Linked DNA regions of Homo sapiens: all the other regions are linked to region 1. The links are contacts of gene promoters, found by promoter capture Hi-C in blood cells and fetal thymus (Javierre and others, 2016). All regions are on one chromosome and are shown on one strand. The core of a region is centred on a gene start or on the middle of the fragment in contact, and the rest is flanking DNA. Distances in the headings are between cores, read along the strand shown. Region 1 holds the start of LPIN1 (lipin 1). Region 2 holds the start of ITGB1BP1 (integrin subunit beta 1 binding protein 1). Region 3 holds the start of KIDINS220 (kinase D interacting substrate 220).

Region 1 (4,180 bases), core at 486-2,985:
CTCCCACGTCTGCAATGTCAGCATGGGACAGGCTGCCTAGATAGGAGCTGCCCCAAGCCCAGCGGGAGCGTGTCCACACTTGACCAGATGGACGGGAGCCGCGCCCCTGGACAAAGCTCTCCAAGCAGCTGTCCCCAAACATCTATCTCAAGCTTGCTGGCTTATCCAATTCACTAAGCTGCCGCATTCGATGCTGTTTCTAAGCTGGCCTCCTCCCTGGCCCTCTGCATCTCAGCAGAGCAGCGGTTCCATCTCCACACTGAGACTTGCCTTTGAGTATCGCATCACACACCTCCACCGGTTCCATTCATCAGTAAGCCTGTGGGTTTTGCCTCCAAATCTCTCTGAAGTCCTTCCGCTTCTTGCTGAGTAGCCCCTGTAATCTGAGCCACCATCATGTCCCCCGGTTTCCTGCAGTGCCACCTGTCTGCTGGCTTCTACTCCTGCAGTCCATTTTCCATGGAGTGGAGGGGTGACTTTTTAAAGAAGTAAATTAGATCATATAATTCCCAGGTTTAAAATTCTTTTTGGACCAGGCGTGGTGGTTCACACCTGTAATCTCAGCACTTTGGGAAGCCAAGGTGGGAAGACTGCTTGAGCCCAGCAGTTTGAGACCAGCCTGGGCAACATAGGGAGACCTGGTCTCTACAAATAGTTTGAAAAATTAGCTGGGCGTGGTGGCATGCACCTGTGGTCCCAGCTACTTGAGAGGCTGAGGCAGGAGGATTGCCTGAGGCCAGAAGGTGAAGGCTGCAGTGAACCGAGATTGTGCCACTGCACTGTAGCTTGGGTGACAGAGTGGGACCCTGTCTCAAAAAGAATTGGTTTGGAATAACATTTAAATAATACCTAAACTCCTTGCCTTGGCCTACAAGACCTGAATATTTGGCCCCTGCCTTCCCTCCAGCCCACAGCACCGGCCCCAGGACCTTTGCACCTGCCATTTCTGCTCTCCAGAAAGCCCTGCCTCCTCCCCATCTTTGTAGTCATAGGTGTTTCTTGTCATTTAGAGTTTCAGTTCAAATATGACACCCTCCCATTGATGGAAATCATTTCACCACCAGACGTTATGTGGCTCATTGTTTATCCGCTGCCTGCCTCCCGGCTGGAGAGGCGCAGGGAGCTGCCTGTCCCTCCTGTTCAGAGCCACCGTTCCGCACCTGGACCACCGCTTGGCAGAGGCGGGAGTGGAGGCTGTCACCATCAGGATGAAGGACAGGGGTGGCCCGGCGTGGAGAAGCTAAGAAGAGATGGCGATAGGTCAACGCGATTGCGCCTTTAAGGTGGAAGAAACGAAGGGCGAGGGTCAGTAAAGTCAAGGACGGGCTCAGATCCCGCCACTGGTGATAAGCGGGACCCATAGGACCGACGTGATCGCGGCCAGGCCCTGGGTGGTTTACCTGGACTTTTACCTGGCTGCCTTTTCTCTGCACCCCTCCGTCCTCACTCCCCCAGTCATCGGCATAGGTCAAGTCAGAGTGTTGAAGAAACACACGAGTTTGGCTCTGGAAAGGAAAATCAGAAAGGCGGCCTAAGGGGCCCCACCCCCAGGAACGCTAAGATAGGCGGCCAGGGGTGAGCGGGCAGGGCCGGCCAGCAGGCCCTGAAAGCAGCCGGGCCACCAGCGCGTCCCGAGTCCCCCTCGCACCGCCCCGCTTGCCCCGCCCCTGCCCTCTGCCCCCGCCCCTGCCCCGCCCCCGAAGGCGAGCTGCGCTGACAGCCGGCGGCGGGCTGGGTGTTTGCAATACAAAGGCGGCCACGCGCGGCGCCGCTCGGTGAGTAGCCGCCGCCTCCAGCCTCCCGCTGTGGAGCAGGGGCCGCAGCCTCGGGTTAGGCGGGGCGGGGCGCGGCGCCGGGGCGCTGAGGACGCGTGGCGAGGCGGGGGCTCGGCCCCGGGGCCCGAGGACCGACGGCCGGGCTACGTCCCCGGGGCCCTCTACGGGAAGTGGTTCGGGGGAGGGAGGCGGGGAAACAGGCCCCGGAGGCCGGGAGGGCCTCGCGAGCATCCCTCGGGCCTGGCTTTCCTGACGCGCCGCGAGGCCCGGTGTGGGCCCGGCTTGGCTGATCTCGAGCGGCGTAGGGGCCACTGGGGGCTGCCGCGCAGTCCCAGAACCGCGGGGACTAGCTCCAGCCGGCCAGCGCGGGTGCGTCCTGGCTCTGCGCGATCATCCCCAGCTTTGCGCCGGGGACTGGGATGAGAGCCTTTCTTTCCCCCGGAGTTAGGATTCCAGCGCTGCAGTTGAGGAAACTGAGGCTCAGGGAGGTTGACCTCTGTGCCCAAGGTCATACAGTTGCCGGGCGGCAGGGCAGGCTGAGCCCAGGTTGGAATCCCGGTTCTCATATTACAGCTCTCCCCTGCGAGGCCTCTGCACCTTTCTTGCAGCCTAGGAGGTGCTAGGCCTAGTGAGCTCCGTCAGCTGCTCCTGCACGTAATTTTATTATGGGCAAGGCCAGGAAAATGCAGGATGAGAAGTAACGTTTTGGGAGTAACTTAAGTGCTGTGGAGCTAGAGTAGGTAATTTGTGTGGTCAGTAGTTGCTGGAGAAAGCAGATGTCAACCCTGTTTTTGATCAGCAAGCAGGAAACCAACTAAGACAACTGGCAGTATTAATTTGGAGATGTTTTAGAACCCGGCAGTTTCCCACAGGATAGAAGTGTTTTGGGAAATCAAAGCTTGTAGCCGTTTTTTTAATTGGGGGTGTTGTGGTATGGTGGTCTAGGGGTAGTGATTGTGAGATTGACTGTTTATCCTTTGTTCCGTAATTTGGGTCTTATTAATGAAAGTAAGCAGTTGAGGAATGTATAGTATTTGAGAAATAAGCACATCCACACATGAACACTTTTCTTGCTCCCAGATTCTTGTTGAAAGGTGTAACAGTTGGATTTATGATTATATACTTTGATAGCACTTCACGTTTGCCAGCATTTGTTATTGAGTGTTTTTGTGCATGGGTTGTGTGTTTTGGCGCTTATTATTCCTATTTGCATGTGGGGCCCTGTGGTCCTGTGGAGCCAGGCCTGGATATAGCCCTGGACTCGGGTCGGGAGGTCTGGGCTCTGCCTGAGCTCTGTGGGACCCTGAGCGAGTTCTTTCACCCACCCAGGTCTCGCTTATCAGCAGTTCCTTTCTTTTAGAAAAGCACAGGGGGACAAGGGGCGGACCTGCTGAGTCTTGTGGTGTGGGAGAGAACGCGAGGGTTCAGGTGAGAGACCGCAGGGATTCCTGGTTGTAGGGGGGACCTTGGAAGTGACTGAGAAGGAGCCTGCCCTGGATTAGGTGGGGACAATTGGCCTGGCCCAGCCAGAAGGAAGTCTGTGGGTCCTGCTCTCCTGCTCTTTGCGTGGTCAGCTGCACAAAGGGCCCAGAACAGACGGCAGGGGAGGGTCAGGAGATGAAAAGATATTTCAGAAGAAGGTCCTGAGGCCACCGTGGTCTGAGATGCGCCGAGGCCGGCACAGAGCACTGGGCTTTGCAGTTGTTGTTCTGACCACTCACAGATGTAGAACTTGGGCAGAAGACTTCAATCCTCTGAGCCTCAGTTTTCCCATCTGTAAAATGAAGGGATAATCATACCCATTCACAGGATTGTTGCAAAAATTAATTGAGATAAAAAAGAGCCCCTGGAACATAATATGGGGTCCACGAATCATTGTGGTTGTTATGATTTTAAAGTGCCACAGGGTGCCAGCGAGGAGGGGCTCTTTGTGGGGTTGGGACAGTCCTGGCTGACGCCGGCCTCTGCTCTGTAAATCATCCCTGTGGGACACCCCCTCCCCCTGCCTGCCACCTCTCTTCCGGTTGGCTTTTCCGGACCATCTGTGTACTGGGTTCAAGGCCTAAAAGGTACCTAAATGAGGTTAATTGATTTGGGCAAGCCTGCCAATGGGGGTAGTCGAGGGGTACAGGCAGCTTTTTCCTTAGGGTGGGAGGGGGCTGTTGCACGGATGTCGGCAGCTTTTGGAGCATTTTGAGAGACATCCAGGTGTTAGGTCCCGCCAGGACACCGAGGCTGGTGGTTCGACCTGTTTGCACTTGCACTTCCTCACTGGTAGCCCGGGCGTGGGATCTTGGAGCTTTTGAGGGGTCCTGAGGAGGAAGTCCCTGGAATCACCCACTAGCAGCTTTGGGGCTTGTTCCTTGAGAAGGGCAAAGTCACAATTTTGACACTTTATTGAACCC
Region 2 (4,079 bases), core at 385-2,884, 2.3 Mb before region 1:
GTCCTTCAGGCCCCACATCCAATCTGGCACCAAGACCCACTGTATACCCCACCTGAAGAGCTCTCTGAGCCAGCTCTCCACCAGGGCCCCCGTCATCCTAAACCATGGGCACAGACACTATTTTTTTAGAAACTGATGAATGTGATGGATCCTCACCCTATAAAAATGCACATCCATACAAAGTTTGGCATGAATTTAAGGAATTCACAAACCCAAGGATATTTCGTGGATAAGGGACCTTGTCCTACTGGATTCCCTAACACTTTAAATCTACCCCCACACTGCAGCCAAAACGATTAAAATGATTTCTTTCAAACATGAATCTAATGCCACTAGCCTGCTGAAAATCTTTCACTGGTTCTCCAAAGTCAGAGACCAAAGTCAACGTTCTTCAGCACGACACGCCAGGTCCTCCAGGACCCAGCTCCTAATCACCTTTCCACTTCCATCCTCCACAACCCGGGCACAGTTCATTGATCTCAGCAAGGCAAAGCTGCTCCTGGTTCTCAGCGCGATGCTCCACGCGCCCCTGCTTTGCACCGCCCGGGACGTCCTTCACCTGTCAGGCACTTGGCTACTTCTTACCTTTCAAGGCCCGTTTCAGGCTGCAGGCCTTCCTGGGATCTCAAGGCTGGGGTAAGGGACCCACAGCTTGAGTGTACCCCCTGATCACAGCGCCACGATCTGCTGTGGTCTCTGATCTCACTCTCCCAGCTGCACGCTGGTCAAAGGCGGAGCTCGGTGACTCCTCTGCATTGCCAGGGCGCCTGGCAGGGGACGCGCTTACTGAAGCCGAGAACTTTCTGGGGAGGTGACACCCCAACAGCGATTCCCATGTACCAAACGCCTACCACGTGCCATGCACGGTGCTAGGTGCACAGATCCCTCTCACCCTCACCCTCACCGACCAGCAAGGCTGCAGGATAACAGCCCCTTTCAAACGAGGATGCCAAAGCGCCCGAAGAGTCAGTGACCTGCCCAGGGTCACCAGAGTAAGGACGGATGCGGCCAAGCTCGGGGCCTAGGGAGAGCCGGCTCCGAAGTTCCTCCCAGACGCCAGCCTGCTTGGCACCTGTCTGTCACCGTGATGGAGCACCTTCCAAGCGCTGGGTGCGGAGGATGTGACAGCGAAGGGGACAGACAACCCCGACCCTGAGAGGCGGGAGGCGGCCGAAGCGGGGCAGAGGAAGAGGCAAGGAAACGGCCCGCGGCCGCCCGCCTTGCCGCCCCTCCGGGGCGACAGCGGCTCGGGAAGCTGCAGTCCGCAAGCCCACGCCCGATCTGCGTGGTTCCAAGCTCCTCCACCCGCGCCCCGGGAGCGCGGCCCCGCCCGGAACCAAGCCCGAGCCCAGGCATCCCTCCTCCGCCCGCCCCGCGGCCCCACCCATCCTTCCTGGCCGTCCGCGCCGCTCTCGGGACCGTGTTCCCGTCAGGCCTCCGCGAGCTCGGCCCCAAGCGGGACGAGGGCTGGGCGCTCACCTCGCAGCCGCGGGCCCATCCCCGGGTTGCGGACTTCGGGGTCCGCGTGGGAGTGCCGCGGCCTTTGGCGCCCAGGCAGCTACTCCCGTTCCCGCTCCAGCGCCGGCTTTTCCAGCCCTCCTGCCCACGTCCGCCGGGCCGCGCCTCCAAGACTATGCGCAGGCGCAGTCCTGACGTCCTACCCCCGGTTCCAAGACCCCAAGTGGTGGGAAGCCTCGCGAGCGGCGTCCCCCGACCGGAAGTCGAGGGGAGGAGTCTAGTGCCGCGGGCTCCGGAGTGACGGAAGTTGTGCTCTTGGTGAATGGGGTTCTTCCTTTTTTATTTACCGGTGGCTGTGCTTCCAATTTAGGAAGACCCCGGCGACCTGTTCCTCACCCCCGCTTCGCCCTCACACTTTCGGGATGTCTGCGATTCCTGCTGAGGAGAGCGACCAGCTGCTGATCCGACCCCTGTAAGGGACCAGCGAGAGAGGGAATGAAGCCACGGGCTGTGAGGGGCGCGAGGGGTAACCGGAGACTGGCCTCCTCCGTCGCCCGCGCTCCCACCTACCCCGGCAGCCTGCCTTTGGTCCGCGCTTGCGGGCCAGGCTTCTCAGGCTCGAGGGGTTGGAGGACCGTTGATCGGAAGGGGCCTGCTATAGAGTGAACGGGATTTTGCTTTTTCATCAGTTTCAGGGGAGGGTATGTTGGAGTCGGAAAAAAAAAAGTTTTACGGGGCCACCGCTCGCTTTCGTACACGCTAAGAAGCGTTTTCACTTAGCACAAGCACGGATCTCTGCGCGTCAGGGCAAGCTGTGAGGGAGCCGGTGAAGCTTATGACCGACAGGATGAGAGGAGGACCTGAATGAGGCTACAGCCGTGCAGGGAAGAATTAAGTCTGTTTCTTAACACCAGGGCTTCACATGTGCCAGAAGTTAGAAAATATTAGGGACTTGCCGTGAGTTTCGATCTTCTCAGCTCAGGCCCTAGTAGAATAAGGAAGGTGTAAAGCTGGAGAAGAGAAAGTGCAGAGGTGTTAGGGACAAAAACTCAGCCCTCGACTGTCCATAAGGAGAGTGGCCTTTCAGTGGACACGATCCTCATCAGTCGGGAATGCTGCTGAAGGGGAGATGCAAATGTAGAGAACTTGAATTCCTACAGATGAGCATTTCGAACCCACAACATGTTTATTGTTAGATACTAGTTGGCACAACATGAATATACGCTTTCCAAAAGGTAGAAAGTATCTCCTTTACACAATCATTCAGTAAGGCTTCATTGAGCACCTGCTTGGGACATAGTCCGTTTCCTTCTGCTTAGTTCACACCTGTCATGTCTTCCTGTGATGAGCAAACACTGAGCAAGTGTCAAGCACCACACATGGGGATATAGACGCAACAGAGGGCCCAGTTAATTGCTCTCGCTCTTTTGGAGAGAATTACAGTGCACAGTGGGAAATATTGGAGAGATACTTTGGAATAATAGGAGACTATTACTTTGAAGTCAGACCTGAAGTCCATTATCTACTTGACCAATTAGTAGGACAACAATCTCACTGAACCCGTTTTCTCATATGGAAATAAGATAAAACTTGAAGAGTGAACATCGCGGTAGGTGCTTTGTAAATAATAGCTAATCTAAGAACGCAGGCAGGCATTGCACTGAGCACTGTGAAAGTATGGAAAAGGGATTTCTGACAGATTGAGGAAAAAAGGATACCTCGTGGATCCTGAAAAATGTGATGCCTGAGCTGAGTCCTAAAGAATGAGTAGGAGTTAAAGACTGGGGGGCCCAGGATGTTCTAGGCAGTGGAAGTGGCACATATGAAAGTGAGAGTGGTCACAGCTTGTGGCCAGATTCCTCATGGCTGTAGCTAAAGAGTTGAGTTAGCAGATGAAGCGACAGGCAGTTGAGGTCCAGTTTAGGAAGCACCTCGTATACACAGGAGTTTGGACCTTTATCAAGTCAATTACAGGGAGCCAGCGAAGGCTATTAAGCAAGCATGGATATTGTGGGAATTATGTTTTAGGAAAATCTCTCCTGGCAGCAGTGTAGCAGATGAATAAAAGCATGGATGAATAAAAGCATGGATTGAGTAGAGCAGATTCAGTGAGATATTGAAAGATTCTAAGTCTAGCTGACGAGAGCCTGTAGTGAGTGATGTGAGTGTGAGAGAGTATGCAAATGAGATCTTCAGGATTTTGTGGCTGATCAGCTGTATCTGGAAGGGTGGTTGTGGGGAGGGAAGGCAGGGCAGAGAGGATGTTATGATCAGATTCCTAAGTTTGGCAGTTGGGAAAGGGTAGTGTTATTCACTCAAGGAGTATAAGAGATGGGGCAACTCTGGAGTAAATTTGGGAATTTGGTTGTTTCGTAACAGCTTTATTGAGATACAGTTTACATACCATACAACTCACAATTTACATACCATACAACTCATTTAAAGAGTATAATTCAGTCGTTCTTAACATAGAGTTATACAACCATCACCTCTCTCTAATTCCAGCACATTTTCATCACTCCCAAGAGATACCTTGTATTCATTAGCAGTCATAGACAATCCCCACTACCTCTCCAGCCCTAAGCAACCACTAATCTACTTCTTTATAGATTTGCCTGTTC
Region 3 (3,737 bases), core at 766-3,265, 2.9 Mb before region 1:
GCAGTGAGCCAAGATCACACCACCTGCACTCCAGCCTGGGCAACAGAGCCAGACCCTGTCTCAAAAAAAAAAAAAAAAAAAAAAAGTTGCCCCAGGGAGATGTAGAAAATGGAGGTACCTGGGATCCTGACTTCTTTCTGACTCTCATTCAATCCTATTATCTCCTTTTCCTTGAAGTAAAAGGTTTAAGTTTCTACTGTCTTCTAAACAGCCCTGACAAATACAGTAGCACATAAAATGGAGAAACTGACCGTTCTTGAGCAAAAGCAGGAAGAAGGGGATGGCACATTCATACATGATCCTATAAAAATTAATCTGGCAGTGTATGTGACCCAGACTGGAAAAATACAAAGAATCAGGGCCCTAGATACCAGTCAAGGAATCACCAGACAGTACACAAGAGAGGCAGTGGGAATAGAGAAGAAATGAGGGATATTAACTTGAAAAATATAAAATCCCTGACATTTGAACTTTCTGAACTACCAAAATATCCAGAAGAGATATTCTGGATATAAAGATAAAACTATGTGACTGGTTGGAAAAGAAAACAGGTGGAAGATGACCAGATGCCCAGCATAGGTGACTGAAGAATGGAGCTGCCCTTAACCAAAAAAAAAAAAGCAGGAGAAAGAGCAGACTTTTCTCTACTTAAGTTATGCCTCCTCCCTTCCACCACCCCAGCTGGGCGAATGGGGCTTTGGCCAGGCTGAATTTGAAGTGTCCCAAAAGAACTAGGTTGGAGAAACCCACCCAATACTTGGAAAAAGATACCGTTCACACTGTGTGTGAATGATCTGGAAATTATTCACACAAAGGGTGTAGAACAAGGATTCTCAAACTTGTGTGCACCAAAATTATTTGGGAAGCTTGTCAAATACACATATCCCTTGAGCTCCTCCCCGGGAGAATCCCATTCCCTAGATCTGGGGTGGTGCCCAGAAACTGACATTTTAACAAGCACCCCAAAATGATTCTGATGAAAGTAGTCCATGCTAGTAAAGCTAGAAGAGAACAAAGAACACACCTGGCCACGGCATTTCCCAACCTGGGCTCTGCACTCAATACCCCACGGTGGTTTAAAAAGGTGTAGATGTCTGGTCCTCAGTGTTGTCAAAATGTGGACAGGAACGAACCTGAAGGGGTGATTCCCGAGCCACACCTCAGGCCGAAGGAATGGGAATCTCTAAAACGCTAAGAAATCTACATTTTTAACAAGCGCCCATAGGGAGCAGAGATGGCTGCATAGTTATTCATAAAAAAATTTTTCATCGGTTTAAACCTGTCAACTTGAAAGAATAAAAATTCCAACATTACAAAGTGATGAAGAAATTATTTCCCTATAAATAAATCTTGGAGGCGTGGAAATCAATGGCTTGCACTATTTTGCCAGGCGTTTAAAAGCCTGCACAGGACAATGGAGCAATGGAGCCCACGATAAAAGCAAGGGAGAAAACAACACCTCCCGGCCCGTGGAAGCCTAGGAGGAGGAACCTAGAAAGACTAGCGGTACCAGCTAAGGGGGCTCTCAAGGTGGTGGATGTGCCAGAGGCTGCTTGGCAAAAGAAAAAAAACGGTTTTACCAACACCCTTCACCCCAACCCACCCGAGGGGCCCCTCAGGAGACAGACCACCAGAGACTCCAAGGTCGGAGACCTTCCCGGCGCTCCAGGAAACGCGGACTCGCCCCGAAAGCCGGGGCCCGAGCGTCCGGGGCCCGCGCCATGCCCTCCCCGGGACCCCCGGTCCGAGCTCGCCCCTTCCGCGCACTCCTCGGCTGTCCCACCTCCCCGCCCGACTCCCCGAGCCCGGCCTCGCCCCCGACTCCTCCCCAATCCCGCGGCAAAGCTTCGCGGACCGGCCTCCACACTGACGGTCTCCCAACCTGGTCCTCAGCTCCGGCGGAACGGGCCCGCTCGGCTGCAGGCGATGTCAGAGGACGGGGAAGCAAGAGACGGCGACTGCAAGCGCGTCGCCCTCACCACACCCGGCGGCCATATTCTTCCCTCTCCGCGAACTGACAGATCACGTGCCCTGGGTAGGGGAGGGACTCCGGGTTGCCACGCCCCCTGGGCGTGGAGGGGAGGGGCGGGGCGGGGCGTAGAGCAGGCGGGGCTGGAGGGGCCGCGGGGCGGGGACACCCAGGACAAGCGCCCCAGGCAAGGTTTTTCAGTGTCAATGTCACTCTTATTACAGTTAATTTATTATCCCTATTTTCCATTATAATCAAGCTTATTCAGAGAAATAAACATCAATTATATCTTCAGAAGAAACTGCACATACATAAGAAATGAAAGCCCGCTCAGCAGCCTTCTTCCGGATCCAGGAGCGAGACCTCTGCCTTTCGCGGGGCCTGTAGTTCACACTCCTTCCAGGTCTCCCAGCACCTCCCCTCACCTCCTTCAGCCTCCACATTCCTAGGCCTTGCTGCCAACAAGCGTCAATCTTGATTTTTGAAAAGGTCCAAGGATGATTACGACGTGCGTAGGTTGCGAACCATCGAAAAGCACCCACCAATGTGTCAACCTGGCAACTCAGGAAAAAGCCAATAAGGAGCCTGACTTCATCAGAAGTTGGTGCGGGGTGGGGACAATGGCTCACTCCTGTAATCCCAGCATTTTGGGAGGCCAAGACGGAGGATCACTTGAGCTCAGGAGTTTGAAACCAGCCTGGGCAACATGGAGAGACCTCTTCTCTACAAAAAAAAAAAAAAAAAAAAAAAATACAAAAATACAAAACTTAGCCAGGCGTGGTGTTGCACACCTGTAGTCCCAGCCACTTAGGAGACAGAGGTGAGAGGATCACTTGAGCCCAGGAGTTCGAGGCTGCAGTGAGCTGAGATCACACCACTGCACTTCAGCCAGGGCAACAGGGCAAGATCCTATCTCCAAACAAACAAACAAACAAACAAAAACGGAAGTTGGTGTGCCCCTCATGAAACAAGGAGCGAACACCCCAACGTGTACAGTGGAGTCCTAAATGGTGTGATTTCTTCGATAATGACTTGCTAAGGCCAGCCACTGTTGTAAACAGGGCAGGGTGGGTCAGGCGTTGGGGGTTAGAAGTATGGTAGGTGTATTAGCCCGTTTTCACACTGCTATAAAGAACCACCTGAGACAGGGTAATTTATAAAGAAAAGAGGTTTAATTGACTCACAGTTCTGCATGGCTGGAGAAGCCTCAGGAAACTTAAAATCATGGCGGAAAGGGAAGCAAACACGTCCTTCGTCACATGGCTGCAGGAAGAGAGGTGCCCAGCAAAAGGGTCAAAAGCCCCTTTTACATCCAACAGATCTCGTGAGAATTCACTCACTATCACGAGAACAGCACGGGGGAAACCGCTGACGTGATCCAATCACCCCCGACCAAGTCCCTCCCTTGACACGTGGGGATTATGGGGAATACAATTCGAGATGAGATTTGGGTGGGGTCACAGAGCCAAACCATATCAGTAGGATATAAGGATGAAGCCAACCTTAGAGTAGGGGAGAAGACAAGGAAACAGGTTAAATGTGCGTTATTTAGCACAGCCTTTCTGAGTCCTGACCATGTCCTAGGCACAGTGCAGTAAGGAGGTAAGCACAGAGGATGGAGTTACCAACTCTGCTTGGGGTCCACTAGGAAGGTTCACAAAAGAAGGGACCCCCCCCCCCCGCACCTCCAGCTGTATCTGAAGTATAGTTTGTCCATCACATCAGTTGGATGGGGCTAGGAAGAATGTCCAGGTCGGGGAACAACACT

Evidence for each region. The method cuts DNA at HindIII sites, captures the fragments that hold promoters and counts their contacts. A CHiCAGO score of 5 or more calls a contact.
Region 2: a contact is called between the fragment with the promoter of ITGB1BP1 here and the fragment with the promoter of LPIN1 in region 1, in 2 of 17 cell types (naive CD8 T cells and total CD8 T cells). The highest score is 6.2, in naive CD8 T cells.
Region 3: a contact is called between the fragment with the promoter of KIDINS220 here and the fragment with the promoter of LPIN1 in region 1, in 4 of 17 cell types (naive CD4 T cells, naive B cells, non-activated CD4 T cells and 1 more). The highest score is 12.0, in naive CD4 T cells.

What each region holds. Positions count from the first base shown.
Region 1 is chr2:11,744,897-11,749,076 of GRCh38, forward strand. LPIN1 (lipin 1) reads left to right here and starts at 1,736. Exons shown (of 21, transcript NM_001349206.2): 1 at 1,736-1,775. It overlaps LOC124907735 (a long non-coding RNA gene), which reads right to left and starts at 563. Exons shown (of 2, transcript XR_007086220.1): 1 at 1-563. RefSeq lists enhancers at 1-476, 2,988-3,659 and a silencer at 1,415-1,984. The HindIII fragment of the contact is 2,521 bases long and covers 151-2,671 here.
Region 2 is chr2:9,421,894-9,425,972 of GRCh38, forward strand. ITGB1BP1 (integrin subunit beta 1 binding protein 1) reads right to left here and starts at 1,635. Exons shown (of 7, transcript NM_004763.5): 1 at 1,480-1,635. It overlaps CPSF3 (cleavage and polyadenylation specific factor 3), which reads left to right and starts at 1,761. Exons shown (of 18, transcript NM_016207.4): 1 at 1,761-1,930. The coding sequence starts at 1,881. RefSeq lists enhancers at 86-944, 938-987, 1,858-1,907, 1,948-1,997 and a silencer at 1,128-1,427. The HindIII fragment of the contact is 3,929 bases long and covers 1-2,288 here.
Region 3 is chr2:8,835,598-8,839,334 of GRCh38, forward strand. KIDINS220 (kinase D interacting substrate 220) reads right to left here and starts at 2,016. Exons shown (of 30, transcript NM_020738.4): 1 at 1,883-2,016. RefSeq lists silencers at 2,073-2,132, 2,143-2,192. The HindIII fragment of the contact is 383 bases long and covers 1,844-2,226 here.